Linked DNA regions of Homo sapiens: region 1 is linked to region 2. Evidence: promoter capture Hi-C in 16 types of primary human blood cells and fetal thymus (Javierre and others, 2016). All regions are on one chromosome and are shown on one strand. The core of a region is centred on a gene start or on the middle of the fragment in contact, and the rest is flanking DNA. Distances in the headings are between cores, read along the strand shown.

Evidence for each region. The method cuts DNA at HindIII sites, captures the fragments that hold promoters and counts their contacts. A CHiCAGO score of 5 or more calls a contact.
Region 1: the fragment with the promoter of ADAT2 here is called in contact with a fragment that was not itself captured in region 2 in 13 of 17 cell types (M1 macrophages, total B cells, naive B cells and 10 more); the score reaches 10.6 in M1 macrophages.

What each region holds. Positions count from the first base shown.
Region 1 is chr6:143,449,325-143,452,024 of GRCh38, forward strand. ADAT2 (adenosine deaminase tRNA specific 2) reads right to left here and starts at 1,371. Exons shown (of 6, transcript NM_182503.3): 1 at 1,239-1,371. The coding sequence starts at 1,334. PEX3 (peroxisomal biogenesis factor 3) reads left to right here and starts at 1,481. Exons shown (of 12, transcript NM_003630.3): 1 at 1,481-1,791. The coding sequence starts at 1,719. It also overlaps the pseudogene RNA5SP221. RefSeq lists enhancers at 377-1,359, 1,162-1,321 and silencers at 402-481, 542-621. The HindIII fragment of the contact is 8,229 bases long and covers 1-2,700 here.
Region 2 is chr6:142,691,713-142,694,412 of GRCh38, forward strand. No RefSeq gene overlaps it. Among named protein-coding and RNA genes, the nearest start is that of HIVEP2, 250 kb to the right of the region's middle. The HindIII fragment of the contact is 1,612 bases long and covers 545-2,156 here.

The sequences.
Region 1 (2,700 bases), core at 121-2,620, 760 kb after region 2:
TACAGGCATGAGCCACTGCATCTGGCCATGCTACTTTGTATCTTTTTAAACATGTAGATGTTTTCAAAGAATTTCTAGACCTCTCTGGCTTTGACATTTTTTGTCTCTTAATTGTATTATAAACACCTAGGGATGTGATTCCATAGTTTACGTCCTCCTACACAGGATTAAGGAGGCAGCTGCTTCTTGGGTTTTAGCATATACAAGTTTCTTCAAGGTCTTAAAGGAAAAAAAGTACTTGTTAGGAGGGCTACATGTCACTGGGCAACAGGAACTTTTCAGCTTCATTATAATCCTATAGCACCACCGCTGTATATGTGGTCCTATAAGATTATAATGGAGCTGAAAAGTGCTAGCGAGCTTCTTAACTGGGATAAAAGTTTGTTTGTAAACGTATGTAAATGTATTTACATGTGCTAGCCCAGGGTCAACCTAAAAGGTAGCGAAAGTGTTTAGCCCAGAAGTCTACATAGAAACTAGGGTTGTCTACCTCCATACCACCCTGAATGTCCCCCGATCTCGGAAGCTAAGCAGGGTCAGGCCTGGTTAGTACTTGGATGGGACAATAGGGCTAAGGTGAGTAGATTTAATGCTCCAGGATAACGACCTTTACCGACAGGTCATTGTGTGGCACGTGGCTGTATGTAGTTATTAAAATGTAAATACATATATTTACAAACAAACTTTTTTTCCCAGTTAAGAAGCTCGCTAGCACACAGCATTCTGTTGAAAGCCCCCTTTATTTCGCAGTCCTGAAGGGAGTGAGGGAAGGAAGTAAAAGGGCAGAGGAAATAATGAATGAATGCGAGACGCCGATTGTACAGGGACTTGTTTCCATACTGCTCTCTACCAGAAACGTTCTCAGTTTCCTTCCTTCTGCTGGACATGTTCCAAGGGCCAAAACCTCAAATAATGTGACTTTGTAGATTGGAGAGTGTGTGACCACAGAAAGGAAAGGGAGGCAGCACGTGCCAGCCGGCGACAGAATGTTAAGTCTGCAGCATACTCCACCGCAATGAAACAAATAATTTGTGTATTTCCTCCCCTTCCTTCGCCCAGAGCCACTGTGAGAATGGGCTACAGAAAGTTTCGAGGCAGTAAAGCCAGTTGTTCACCCAGAACATCTGACTGCCATAAAAATTATGGTGACGAGAAAGAACGTTTGCTCAAATGCCGGGGTCGGGTTGAGGGCTGGAGAAAGGTCCCACCCCGCAGCATCTACCTCCCGGGCTCCTCACCATGTGCATCGCCTCCTCCATCCACTTTTCGGTCTCCTCTGCCGACACCGAGCACGCGCCGCTTGCAGCTGGCTTGGGTGCCGCCTTCGCCTCCATACCCAGCCACCACTCAGCTACAGAGCCCGCGGCAGAGGAGGAGCGCGGGCAGCGGAACGCGGCGGGCCCGGGACCCCGTTTCCGGGGGTAGTCTAATGAAAAGGCACTCGGGAGCTATTTCTGAACGGACCTGGGCTTGTCGGACCAGTGAGCGGCGGCGGCTGCGCGGCGGCAGCGGCAGAAAGCGTAGCTGCTTTGCTGTAGTCCACGCCCCCTTGCCGCTCCGGTGACAGTCTCTGCGGAAAGTCACGTTTGTGATTTCGGGAGAGCACAGAACGGGACGACGGCGCTCTTGCTGGGTCATCTGGGCCAGGTGACGAAGAAACAGTTTCCTGGTGAAGCAGTCCCTCACCCCTAGTCAGCCCACACCCCTAGGGCCTAAAGATGCTGAGGTCTGTATGGAATTTTCTGAAACGCCACAAAAAGAAATGCATCTTCCTGGGCACGGTCCTTGGAGGTGGGTGACAACGTGCTTGAAAGGGGGCATTGGGAGAAGGGGGTGGGAGAGGTGACTTCTTCTAAAATAAGGACAGGCCGGGCGATCCTAGTCTGGGATATGTAGAGGGAGTTCGATCAACCATGGGATGAAAAGGGAGGTGGCCAACCTCCAGGGTTCTCCCATCTCTGCAGTTGAGAAATGCCTCTGTGCCCTTTGCCCTGTCACCGACTCTTAACTCTGTTTCTCACCTATCCTTTTTTCTCACGGACCTTTGGAGAACTCATCACAGTTTAAGTTTCTGTTTCAAGGCACCATTCTCTTACAGGAACTTTTTAAAAAAAATTCTGCTTTCCTGTGAGATTCTGCATTTCTCCTTGGCACTCTTGATACTTTGGCTCTCACCCTTCTCAGGAGTTTAATAATAATCTAGGGAAGTTACCTATAGGCTGCACTTCGGGTGGTGGTTAAAGTCGATTTGAATTTTTGAAAACAGCGCAGTTGTCCTAAAGGACTGAAAGATATGGATTAGATAAAGAAAAACAAATCAATATTTTAGCTCTGTTTCTGCCATTTTAGAATACAAACTATGGCAGTAAGAAAAATGCTTGAGGGATGTTGTGCAATCTTCCTCAGGATCTTCAAGGTTGGGATCATTGTAATCTAGCTGACATAACTGAGTTGCACAGGCCCAGAGGAGATTTAGAAACAGATAAGATAAAAATCTTGAGACGCTTTTCCCTCATACAATGCTCATGTGATAATATTCAGGGATTTGAAGGAGGGAATAAAAGTTTTGTGAATTATATGAAAAGGACATCTAGGAACTATAAAAGAGGAAATTTGTTAGAACTTGAGTTTTTGAGAAATAGTCTCATCACTTATTACATGCTATGTTTACAAAAGTACTTAAAATCAAGAACAGAGTTT
Region 2 (2,700 bases), core at 101-2,600:
AGCAGGTAAGAAACACATTTGTCTCTAAACACCCAGCCCAGTGGTACATGAAATGATCTTCATCTATTTGTTTCTCAAGCATGAAATGATAGCCTACACACAATCTTTTCATATTGTAGTCACTCTGTGATCTTTCAAAATGAAAATAAAGAGGTCTTGTCACTAGGTGTACAATCTATTTTCCTTGACTTGAAATCTCATCTTTTATTTCTTCAAAGCACATAAGGACTTTATCTTTAATTCTATCTTGTATTCTGTTATCAAATCCATTTGTTGTTGTTCTATGTCTGCTCAGGATGTCTGAACATTTTTACATAGAGTAACTTTAAGTGTGAACCTAAGTCGAATTCAAAACAAGACATCTAACTCTAAGAAAAGCCTTAGGTAAAACTTTGAATATATTTATCTTGAATGCTACAAGATGTCCAAATTATCCCTAGACATCCTCTCTTCACTTTCTTCAGACACCTAACCCTTCCTCCCTCTGCCACCTCAAATTCAAAATTCACACTTAGGAGAAAGATTTGTAATTTTTTCAAATCAAAGCTTATAGTAGAAGCCAATCAACTAATTCTGTAATTGTCTCTTAAACACCCTAAACTATGCAGGACCACTTCATTGCAAAAACAAAATAAACTCTTGAAATCACAAGGTAATATATAGCAATTAACAATTCAACATTACAAACAGTAAGTGCTATTGGTAAATGCTACTTAAGTTCAGGAAATAAAAGGTAATTATCTTTGAGCTGACAAATTTACCGCACTACCAATAAATGAAGGAATTACTGTATAGTGTGCTAGCAGGGATCCTGGGAGATCTGGTGGAGATAGAAGTTCTAGCTGAACTTCAGAACCCTCCAATACAAACAGGCTTATCTGAGGGGACAGGTCAGTCCTGCACACTATTGCAAGTGTTATCAAAGTGTGGTCCACGGACCAGCATCCTCTACACCACTTGGGAGCTTGTTAAAGGTACAGAATCGAGGGCCCCGTCCAGAACTAGTAAATAAAAAATCTAGATTTTTAACAAGCTCCCAGGATGATTATTCATATGCACATTGAAGTTTGAGAAGCTCTGGTCTACACAGTGGCGATTCTGCTCAGTTTCTTCGCATTTTAGTCCTGGGCTTTCAAAGCTACTTGCTTTTTTAAATCAACTATTAATTTGTAGCCTACAATTGTCACAACTGCAAAATTAACTCATTACTTAACTTTATTCTATTTCTCATGCATTTCCCCCTCAACGTCCCTTTTTCTCCAACGGTGGTCCCTTGAGAATGACAGATTTTTCACCACCCAGCAACCAAGGCACTACCCCACATCCTACACGAGGGGGCGCATGAGGACTAAGATTCGGGATCTTCTAGGCCATCTTCTCCACAGTGATTTTTATCAGCGACGGCCCCCTTTCTCCAGGATTGGTTTCCCAATGACATCACTTGGAAGCATGAAGAGTTGCTAGAATCCTCTCCTCCACTCACAAGCCAGGCATTTCCTGAACCCTTGCTGCGTTCGCCGCTTTCCACCCCATACCATTTCCCTAAGAGACAAGCATTCAGATGATCTACCCCCAGGGGTCCCAGGGAAGGAGGGAGAATCATTGCTTTAAATACAACGGCAGATCAGAGGGCCCTTGGTCAATATCCCTGCTCTCATTTCTCCTGTGTTTCATCTTCCATCAGGTCATACAGCCTTGAAAGTCTTTGACACATCACCCCTCCCTTCAGATCCCCACCTCTCCAATATTTCAGCAGAGCTTGGTCTTTTATAATCTAATTTTAAAAAACTCTTGCTCCATTCTGTTCTTTTACTGCAAACAGAGAGTAGCTGAGTGAGTGGCGTGAGGATGAAGAGTCCAGAGCTGAGGCTTGTGGATTTCCTGGGAAGTTACTCACTCAACCTTTGGCCTGGGGAATAATTAGAAAAATGAATGTTTCATTCCCTTGAGAAGGCTTTTTCTTTGTCCACTGGAACCCAATACTGGCGCTGTGGCTGTGTTTTAGAGAGTGTCTAGTGGCGCTAACTTGCTAAATCCATGAGGTTTATCACTGTTATGCACAGTGCCCACCAAGTGTTGGCAACAAGCAACTCGTAAATGCATTTTGGCAATTACTATGAAATTTTCAGTGTCATATGGGTCTTCCACCTCCTAAAAGCTTTTGTCCTGATGAAAGCTTTTATTTTAACTGTAGTTTTTCCCTAATAGGGCTCTATTTCAAACTTTAACAGTTGTAATTATTTGTATCAACGTGCAATCCCACACTTAAACAAATTGGAGCCCACTCCAGAACAAAATTAAAATGGCTTCAAAGAATGACAGAAAAACATTTCTTTTGGCAAGGAATAACAGGAAGGCAGAAGGAATACAGGAGAGATCCAGTGGAGAGGATAAAGCAATGGGAGGCCTTTCCACATGTGTAGCCTCTTAAAAAAATTGCTACCATTCCTTATGTTGCCTATGCAGGATACAACCCTATCTCTTAGTAAAAATGGTCTCCCCACCCCCACAATTCTTGTGGCTATTACCAAACAGTGCTTCTTATAAAAGAAAAAGAATATGACAAAGCAACCACAAGGAAGGTTAAAAAAAAAAGATAAAACCCGGGGCTAGAATACACCCAGTTGATGCTCAATAATGATTGACTTAAATGTTTGTGTGGCACAAGGTACAGAGTGGATTTCTTTCACATCAATCTGG